Regions from separate parts of the Homo sapiens genome. Here regions 2 and 3 are each linked to region 1. The links are contacts of gene promoters, found by promoter capture Hi-C in blood cells and fetal thymus (Javierre and others, 2016). All regions are on one chromosome and are shown on one strand. Each heading gives the region's core, a stretch centred on a gene start or on the middle of the fragment in contact. The rest is flanking DNA. Distances are from core to core; before and after follow the strand shown.

Region 1 (3,051 bases), core at 254-2,753:
AAAATAATACACTTATATAGGCCCATAAAAAGACCAACATTCGTTAAAATCAAATTGCAGCATTTACTAAACTAAAAGAAAAAGAACAAGTAAAGTTTCCTCTCTCACTTATTTTGTTTTTTGTTTGTTTTGAGACCAAGCCTTGCTCTGTCGTCCAGGCTGGAGTGCAGTGGCGTGATCTCGGCTCACGGCAACCTCCGCCTCCCGGGTTCAAGCGATTCTCCTGCCTCAGCCTCCCGAGTAGCTGCGATTACAGGCGTGTGCCACCATGCCCGGCTGATTTTTGTATTTTTAGTAGAGAAGGGGTTTCACCGTATTGGCCAGGCTGGTCTCGAACTCCTGATCTCAAGTGATCCATCTGCCTTGGCCTCCCAAAGTGCTGGGATTACAGGCGTGAGCCACCACGCCCCGCCTACAAAGGTATTTTAAAATCCCATTTACAATAACCCTCTGAATTAGATAGGTACCAAGTTCCACCCTCTTCTAAACACGAGATCAAATATCAAGGTAAGGTCTCAGAGGGTTTGGGTGTAAAAGACTCCAACCAAATTTAATAAATGGGAAGTCATTACCTTTATTTGTGAGAGAAGCTTTGGAGAATGTGGGGGAAGCTGATGTCAAATATAAAGGGCTTAAAGAGAGAAGAGGGAGAGGAGCTTTCAGCACAGTCCAGTTCACAGCCCGTCGGTGCTCAAAACATACTTGAATACCTGGTACAAAAGATAAAAATGATGGTTTGGTTTTCTATAAGACAGCATAGTTTCTTTAAAATTACACACACACATGCATTGCTTTTCTTCCTTTAATTAGTTGAGACCATAGGACAAAAGAAGAGGCATAGTTGAGCGCGTAATGGTGCGAAAATCAAAAGGTTGGGAAGAAACAAGAAACTCAGATAAACGCTTCCGTCGGCTGTGACAGGTTCTGAGGCGCCCAGATCTACTGGACATAGCGCGGCTCAGAAGCCTCAGAGACCTGTCCGCACAGTTCCTGAAGTTAGCAACAAATTAGTGAGTGCTGTTGCGGGCCATTTTGCAGCCAGAGAAGCAAATGCGCAAATGCGCCCAGCCAGTCAGCACGGACTTCAAGAACCAACTTCATTCCTTGCAAGGTGCTTTAGTTCTGGCCGTTAGGGCGGCAACCAAACAGAAACCTGCCCCGCCTCTGGGAGAGAAGGCGGATCCCTAACGCCAGCTATCTCCAAGAGCAACATTGCCGCAGCACTTCCGGGACGTCGTGCTGCAAAGGACGCCGCTGTTATACGTCACTTCCACGGCTCAGCGTCAGGCAAGTTGGCCTCTCTGTTGTAAATTAGTGGTTAAGGTTATCTATTATTGCCACTTTTCCAGCGCTAAAGGCTGTTTTGGAACCAGTGTTGCTTGTTCCGCGGGTGATTGGCTTTTTTTTTTGGCAAACCAGTTATTCAAGTTTCTGGTCTTTAAAAAACTCTGTGGCGGTACGGTAACCGAGGAGGTTCCAGCGCGGCGGAAGTACCCCGCGGGTGGGTGTGTGCGCAAGGCCAGGGCCAGAGGGGCACGTGGCGCCGGTGAGTGGCCGTAGAAGCCGGAGGATTTGAAAATGCTGGACGTGGAACCCAACTGCCGGAGGGAGGGAGGAAGGAAGGGGATGCGGTGCGAAGACCTTGCTGTCTGTAGGGGGAGGAGATACTAATCATGGGGCGGCAAGGGTGGTGTGTGGTCGGTCGGCGCTCACGAGACCATGGAGAAGTAAACTCTTCACCCATCAGGTTGGTGGTCACTGGCTGTCTGACCGTGGGTGAGGTGACAGGGCTGCTTTTGTCTCCTTTATGGTGTTCTCACCGCAGCTCCGAGGGGTTGGAGTATACTCAGAGGCTACAGTGATCAGAAGACATAGGTCGTTTTTTTTTCATCAGGGAGGAGAGAGAATGTCTTTTCGAGGCGGAGGTCGTGGAGGCTTTAATCGAGGTGGTGGAGGTGGCGGCTTCAACCGAGGTGGCAGCAGCAACCACTTCCGAGGTGGAGGCGGCGGTGGAGGCGGCGGCAATTTCAGAGGCGGCGGCAGGGGAGGATTTGGACGAGGGGGTGGCCGCGGAGGCTTTAACAAAGGCCAAGACCAAGGACCTCCAGAACGTGTAGTCTGTATGCAGTCTTCAGTATTTAGCTTATTTGAAGGAGTAGGTGTGGGTTGGGGGTTTGTGTTGTTAGGCAGCAAGTTTGGGATACACAAGCCTGTGTGGAGAATGTAGCATGTAAGGGTGGAGTGGGGAGATCAAGAAAGCTGAGGGATACTTAGAATGCATCTTGGAGGTGGAACTTGAGGGTTGACAGGAAGATATTAAATAGGTAATCGTGAGTACTTATGCCTAATTCCCCGATTTTACAGATGAGAAAACTATGATTTAGAGTTAAGTTTTTTTGCTGGGGTCATAAGGTTAGTGATAAGTGATCAATTAGTGATATAGCTGAAATACAGGCTGGGTGCGGTGGCTCACGCCTGTAATCCCAACACTTTGGGAAGCTAAGACGGGAGGATCTTTTGAAGCCGGGAGTTAGAGACCAGCCTGGATAATAAAGCAGGAGACCCTGTCTGTACAGAAAAGAAAGAAATACAAAGCCAAGTATTCTGACTCCAAAGCCCATGCTTTCTGTTACTACTCAAAAGTAGATAAGTGAGAAAACAATTTGCTTGAGAGGGAAACTGCCAGAGAGGAAATCTAGAAAAACACCTATTTAGGGTAGTTTTAGAGTAATTAACAATGAGATGGGAATGGAAGTCACAGAAAGTGAAACTTACTACATTAAAGAGGAGAGAGGGTGAGTAGTGTCTAACTAAGAATGGCTTGGATGAGTATGCAGGATGGTTTGAAAGGAGCAGTTTCTAGAATAAAAGGTCCCAGCCCACAAGCTGTTGTACCAGTCCATACATGAGACCTTGAGAGCCTGAATCAGGATGGTGACAGTGAGGAAAAAAAAGGAAGGGTTAGATAGGAGAGAGATTTCAAAGGAAACAAAATCGGTAGAACTTAGCTAATGCTGATAATAAAGGGTTCCAGGTTTTGAGCTTGGGTGA
Region 2 (3,051 bases), core at 312-2,811, 960 kb before region 1:
TTCATACCTTAAATAGGCACACTATACACCTTCCTTATTTCTATCGTAATCAGATCTCCCCAAATATAAATTTGCAATGAGGAAAAATTTTACTAGTTACATAATTAGAAAAAAACACCTATTTATATGCTAAAATATTAACACATTTGAGGTCAAAATAATGTGGAAGGTGCTTCTGGGTAGATTCGGTAAGGCAATGTAAAATTGCTGCCATGCTCCACACTCATCGTATTGGGATGAATTAGCATACGAATATTAGCTTTGTTTCTACATACACTCCTTACCCCTCCACCCCAAAGGCGTTGATTTCCCAAACCCTAAAGAATAAAGCTATATTGTTCAGATAAGGCCAGAGACTTTTAAGAAAATTAGCAATCACTTTTTTCTTGACCTTTTCACTAAGCAGACAAAGTGATTCAACTGGAGCAAATGTAAAAGATTATTAATACAAGAAAACATAAAATTAAGTATCAGATAAAAACAATAGCTACATTAGTACCATTTTGGCTGGCATGCATCAACACCAAATACAAAACCACAAACCACAGAAAGCATGCAATAGGAGTTACCGTGACAGTTAAGGTGGTAATCCTCTGTTGGGAAAATGTGTTGACAAAGACAGAGTTATCTATTTTGTGTGCCAAAGTACAGTAATACATTTGTGAAATAATCAACTTTTTGAATATGTTTGGCTAGTCTGATATCTTAAAAGGATTTGACAAGATACTGAGAACATATTACCCTATCTTCAATACAGTATAGTTGTAGAGATTTTTTAAAAATTATTTTTAGAATCCTATTTAAAAAATCTATGGCTGAAGAAAAAGAAATGTCAAAATTTTAATTCACCTGATTGAAAAAAATAATGCAGTAAAGTCATATATGCTAGAGGCTTGTCAGTATAATTGTGAACTGAGAAATTTTGCTATTGATAAAAGCACTATTCTAGAGAGTACTTCATTAGAGAAAACTGAAATACCCAATTGCATATTTTTTCTCTTTTAGTCTGCAGCTCATTTGTTGCATTAAAACTAACTTTGTGTTTGTGCGTGTGTGTGTGTGCGTGTGTGTGTGCCATAACTAAAGATATTAGTCGACATAGAATTAATCTAATTTCCTTTTTTTTGGCATTCCAATTTTTTTGTGAACTTAATCAGAAAAACAAATGAGTTTTTAAAATTTATTGATTGATTGATTTATTATACTTAAGTTCTGGGATACATGTGCAGAATGTGCACATTTGTTACATAGGTATACATGTGCCATCGTGGTTTGCTGCACCCATCAACTCGTCATCTACATTAGGTATTTCTCCAAATGCTATCCCTCCCCTTGCCCCCCACCCCCTGACAGGCCCTGGTGTGTGATGTTCCCCTCCCTGTGCCCATATGTTCTCATTGTTCAACTCCCACTTATGAGTGAGAATATGTGGTGTTTGGTTTTCTGTTCCTGGGTTAGTTTGCTGAGAATGATGGTTTCCAGCTTCATCCATGTCCCTACAAATGACATGAACTCATTCTTTTTTATGGCTGCATAGTATTCCGTGGTGTATATGTACCACATTTTCTTTATCCAGTCTATCATTGATGGGCATTTGGGTTGGTTCCAAGTCTTTGCTATTGTGAATAGTGCTGCAATAAACACACATGTGCATGTATCTTTATAGTAGACTGGTACCAAAACAAATATATAGACCAATGGAACAGAACAGAGGCCTCAGAAATAACACCACACACCTACAACCATCTGATCTTTGACAAACCTGACAAAAACAAGCAACGTGGAAAGGATTTCCTATTTAATAAATGGTGTTGGGAAAACTGGCTAGCCATATGCAGAAAACTGAAACTGGACCCCTTCCTTAAACCTTATACAAAAATTAACTCAAAACGGATTAAAGATTTAAATGTAAAACCTAAAACCATAAAAACCCTAGAAGAAAACCTAGGCAATACCATTCAGGTCATAGGTATAGGCAAAGACTTCATGACTAAAACACCAAAAGCAGTGGCAACAAGAGCCAAAATTGACAAACAGAATCTAATTAAACTCAAGAGCTTCTGAATAGCAAAAAAACTACCATCAGAGTGAACAGGCAACCTACAGAAAGGGAGAAAATTTTTGCAATCTATCCATCTGACAAAGGGCTAATATCCAGAATCTACAAAGAACTTAAATTTACAAGAAAAAAAACCAATCCCATTGAAAAGTGGGCAAAGGATATGAACAGACATTTTTCAAAAGAACACATTTATGCAGCCAACAAACATATGAAAAAAAGCTCATCATCACTGGTCTTTAGAGAAATGCAAATCAAAACCACAATGAGATACCATCTCATGCCAGTTAGAATGGCGATCATTAAAAAGTCAGGAAACAACAGATGCTGAAAAGGATGTGGAGAAATAGGAACACTTTTACACTGTTTGTGGGAGTGTAAACTAGTTCAACCATTGTGGAAGACAGTGTGGCAATTCCTCAAGGATCTAGAACTAGCAATACCATTTGACCCAGCAATCCTATTACTGGGTATATACTGAAAGAATTAATCTAATTTCTTAAAGTGTTAGAGAACTGTAACAAAATATACCGTGTCTAAGTCTGAATCTCTAAAACATAATTCCTGATCCATGAATCATATTTTTGAATTAACATTTTTCTGGTCTAGGTTCTGTGCTGAAAGTTCTATGGGGTTGATAACCACTTTATGAAATCACAGAGGGGAGAACATTTCCTTTAGGGACTCTGGTCATAGAGAAACATTATTCAATTACATTCAAACTTGTAGGTATCAGTTGAACACCATCCTTCTGTTTTCCACTGTTCCACTCCAATTTCTGATTTGAGCTGTTGTTACTGTTTTTTTTTTTTATTTTTTAAATTGTTGTAAAAGGTAAAATGTCCACAAACTGGGGGCAAGGTTATAAGAAAAAAATAAGGTCCCAGAATTTTACACCACCAGATCTGTGTAACATAATTCCATTCAGTTTATGCTTCAGGAATTCACCTAGAACAAGAATTGGATTTGTAGTTATGGTAAAGCTACTTTTT
Region 3 (3,051 bases), core at 387-2,886, 680 kb after region 1:
GGAATCAAATTCAGGACGAGTTAAATGGCAATGGTGGCCGGGCGCGGTGGCTCATGCCTATAATCCCAGCACTTTGGGAGGCTGAGGTGTGCAGATTACTTGAGGTCAGGAGTTTGAGAACAGCCTGGCCAAAATGGTGAAACCCTGTCTCTACTAAAAATACAAAAATCAGCCGGGCGTGATGGTGTGTGCCTGTAATCCCAGCTACTCGGGAGGCTCAGGCAGGAGAATCGCTTGAACCCAGGAGGCAGAGGTTGCGGTGAGCCGAGATGGTGCCACTGCACTCCAGCCTGGGTGACAGAGCAAGACTCGGTCTCAAAAGTATACATAAATAAATAAGTAAATAAATAATAAATGGCACGAGTGATTTCGTTCCTGAGAAACAAAAATCTCAGGAGCCCTTGAATTTCTTTGGGGGCATTTGGCATCTGTATTTTATAAAGAAGTATGTGCAAAAACAAGAAATTACCTTGTTGGAGATTATTTCAACTCTAGTCAAGTTTTCCTTGGCTTTCCTGAACAGAGGGGGAAGCTGGGAGGAATTATTCACTAAGGGAATGCTGGTGGAAGATATTATCCATTTAATTAGGTTTGTACTATGACCATATTAATTCTAATATATCAGTAGAAGGGATTATGTTGTACTTTCTTCCAAAAATCTTACAGGATGATCGCTGAATAATTGCATCTAGGATTCTCTCTGTGAATGGGTTCTTCCTACTGTCTGTGTCTTCTTACTTGCTTCCATCTTAGTCCGTTGTTTGCCTGGATTAGAAAGATAGGCTGAAGGCAGAGTATGTATGTATATATGCCATGGATTTTTAAAAACAGCCTATCTTTATAACAGTTTTAGGTTTTGTGCCATAGACTTTGATTTATGTATTTCTCTTCATAGAAATAATCTTATTTTTTAAGTTTCATTGCTTTAATGCTCAGAGATATATTTTTAAACTTCTTATTTTGAAATAATTTTAGATTTACAGAGAGTTGCAAAGACACAAGAGTCTCCATGTAACCTTCCCTTAATGTTAATATCTTATATAACCATTTATCAAACATTCGTCAAATCTAAGAAATCAATGTAATACAATACTATTAACTAAACAACAGTCTTTACTTGGATTTCACCAGTTTTTTCACTAATGTGCCTTTTCTATTCCAAAATCCAATAGATGATACATCTACATTATACTTAGCAATGCTGTCTCCTTAATTCATTCTGATATATGACATTTCTCAGTTTTTTTCTTTTTTATGATCCTGACACTTTTTAAGAGTACTGTTCAGGTATTTCGTAGAAAGTTTCTCAGTTTGGGTTTGTGTGATGTTTCCTCAAGATTAGACTGAGGCTTTGGATTTTGGAGAATACCACAGAGGTGAAGGGTCCTTTTCATCACATCCTATCAGGGGGTACATGACATCCTCATGACTTATTCCTGGTGATGCTAACTTTGATCACTTGGTTGAGATGGTGTCTGCTAGGTTTCTCTGCTTCAGTTTACTAGTTTTTTATTCCAATCTTCTGTTTTTTAGAAGCAATCGCTAAATGCAGTCCACACCCAAGGGGAAGAGAGTTAAGCTCTACTTCCTGGAGGGAGGAGTCACAAAGAATTTATGGATATACATTATGACCACCACAGTGATTAATAAATATTTAGGGAGTGATAATTAAAGGCTATGTGAATATCCTGTTAGTTCTTCAGGTTTTGACCACTTATTGTAGCATTCCCCAGTGGATGTCCACAACAACTGTTATTGTGGTGTTCTAAAGGTGATTTTTCTGTTTTCCTCAGAATTATTTTTGACATATGGTCATTTCATTATTTTAAAAACTTATTTTGGCTGTGGCTTTGCTAAGTTTTCAGAATGAATTTGATTTCTAGAACATTTTAATTAGTTTTTTTTAATTAATTTCTTTACTGGAAGGGTTATCTTTAAATGGAAGGTTATTAATCTCCCTTGAAGGAAACTGTTTAATTTAGTAAGCCACGGAGGATTGCTAATGATTCTTATTTTTTATTTAAATTTACAAAAATATAAACAAAATAATAAAAATAATGTAAGATTTTATGGGGTAATTTAGATTTTTTAATGTTCATTTTTTAATTTCTTAAAAATTATACTGCAGTAATAATCACTAAGCATCAGACAACTTAAATTTTAACTTAAATGGAAAGTAAGTGGCCAATAAATGCTTTGTGTAACCTAATGGCCGTGCTGAGTTTCTTCTTAAACAGCAATTCATAGCAGGTGAGTTCCGACTCAGAGTCCGAACATGTTTTGAACCAGCATAGCTACAGCGGAAAAAAAGGTGTTTTTTCACCTAAACTTCAAACCAAGGTTTTGCATATTCATACTAATTTATCTATGAGGAAGGAGCAAACTAAAATTTAGAAAGAATATATCACATTGATAAGGCAGAACTTAAAAAGAAAAAAACTGATGTATCACTATTCCTTTCAACTAAGTACCCTCCTCTGCTAACTTTCCACCTACTACTGGAAGAATATTTAAAAGAACATAAACTTTATAAAATTTAACACATTAATGGCATGTTCAGTAATACCAGCTATGTACCTTAAATATGCATTTATATATTTAAAAACAATATAGATTTATTTTCTCTTTCTCATCCTGGCTACCTCAGTATTGATAATGAAACAGTTTCTTCAAACTGATTATTGTGTACATTTTTATTGAGCATCTACTATGTGCACTGGAGGATGCTAAACCCTGAAGAGAGTGAAATATGCTGATATCTGTACTTCAATTAAGATGTGCACCAGATACAGTCACCACTGCCCTGTGCCACCCAAGTGTGTTTTCAGGTCTTTCTTGGTGTTACTAGCCCTGAGTGCCAAGGATCTCAGCTTGTTTTTGGGGGATCCTTTAAGCATGCTCGTCATTTAAAATGATGTGGCTCTTTGGAACAGCTCAGATGAGACCTTGCAAAAAAAACCTCAAGAGGTAAATGGTGCTACTTCTGCGGGATGATCAGCAGTGAAAAGTCAGGCTGCTGTCAATAAGTAGAGTGACCATATAATTTATCAT

What was found. The method cuts DNA at HindIII sites, captures the fragments that hold promoters and counts their contacts. A CHiCAGO score of 5 or more calls a contact.
Region 2: a contact is called between a fragment that was not itself captured here and the fragment with the promoter of GAR1 in region 1, in 1 of 17 cell types (fetal thymus). The highest score is 5.0, in fetal thymus.
Region 3: a contact is called between a fragment that was not itself captured here and the fragment with the promoter of GAR1 in region 1, in 1 of 17 cell types (monocytes). The highest score is 6.8, in monocytes.

What each region holds. Positions count from the first base shown.
Region 1 is chr4:109,814,259-109,817,309 of GRCh38, forward strand. It overlaps GAR1 (GAR1 ribonucleoprotein), which reads left to right and starts at 1,504. Exons shown (of 7, transcript NM_018983.4): 1 at 1,504-1,546; 2 at 1,895-2,120. The coding sequence starts at 1,907. GAR1-DT (GAR1 divergent transcript) reads right to left here and starts at 1,124. Exons shown (of 2, transcript NR_186620.1): 1 at 573-1,124. RefSeq lists enhancers at 880-979, 1,150-1,549, 1,560-1,609, 1,960-2,009, 2,180-2,249. The HindIII fragment of the contact is 3,017 bases long and covers 589-3,051 here.
Region 2 is chr4:108,852,333-108,855,383 of GRCh38, forward strand. It overlaps COL25A1 (collagen type XXV alpha 1 chain), which reads right to left. Exons shown (of 38, transcript NM_198721.4): 25 at 570-593. Among named protein-coding and RNA genes, the nearest start is that of ETNPPL, 91 kb to the left of the region's middle. The HindIII fragment of the contact is 4,532 bases long and covers 1-3,051 here.
Region 3 is chr4:110,495,404-110,498,454 of GRCh38, forward strand. All of the region lies in intron 3 of ENPEP (glutamyl aminopeptidase), which reads left to right. Among named protein-coding and RNA genes, the nearest start is that of ENPEP, 21 kb to the left of the region's middle. The HindIII fragment of the contact is 8,500 bases long and covers 1-3,051 here.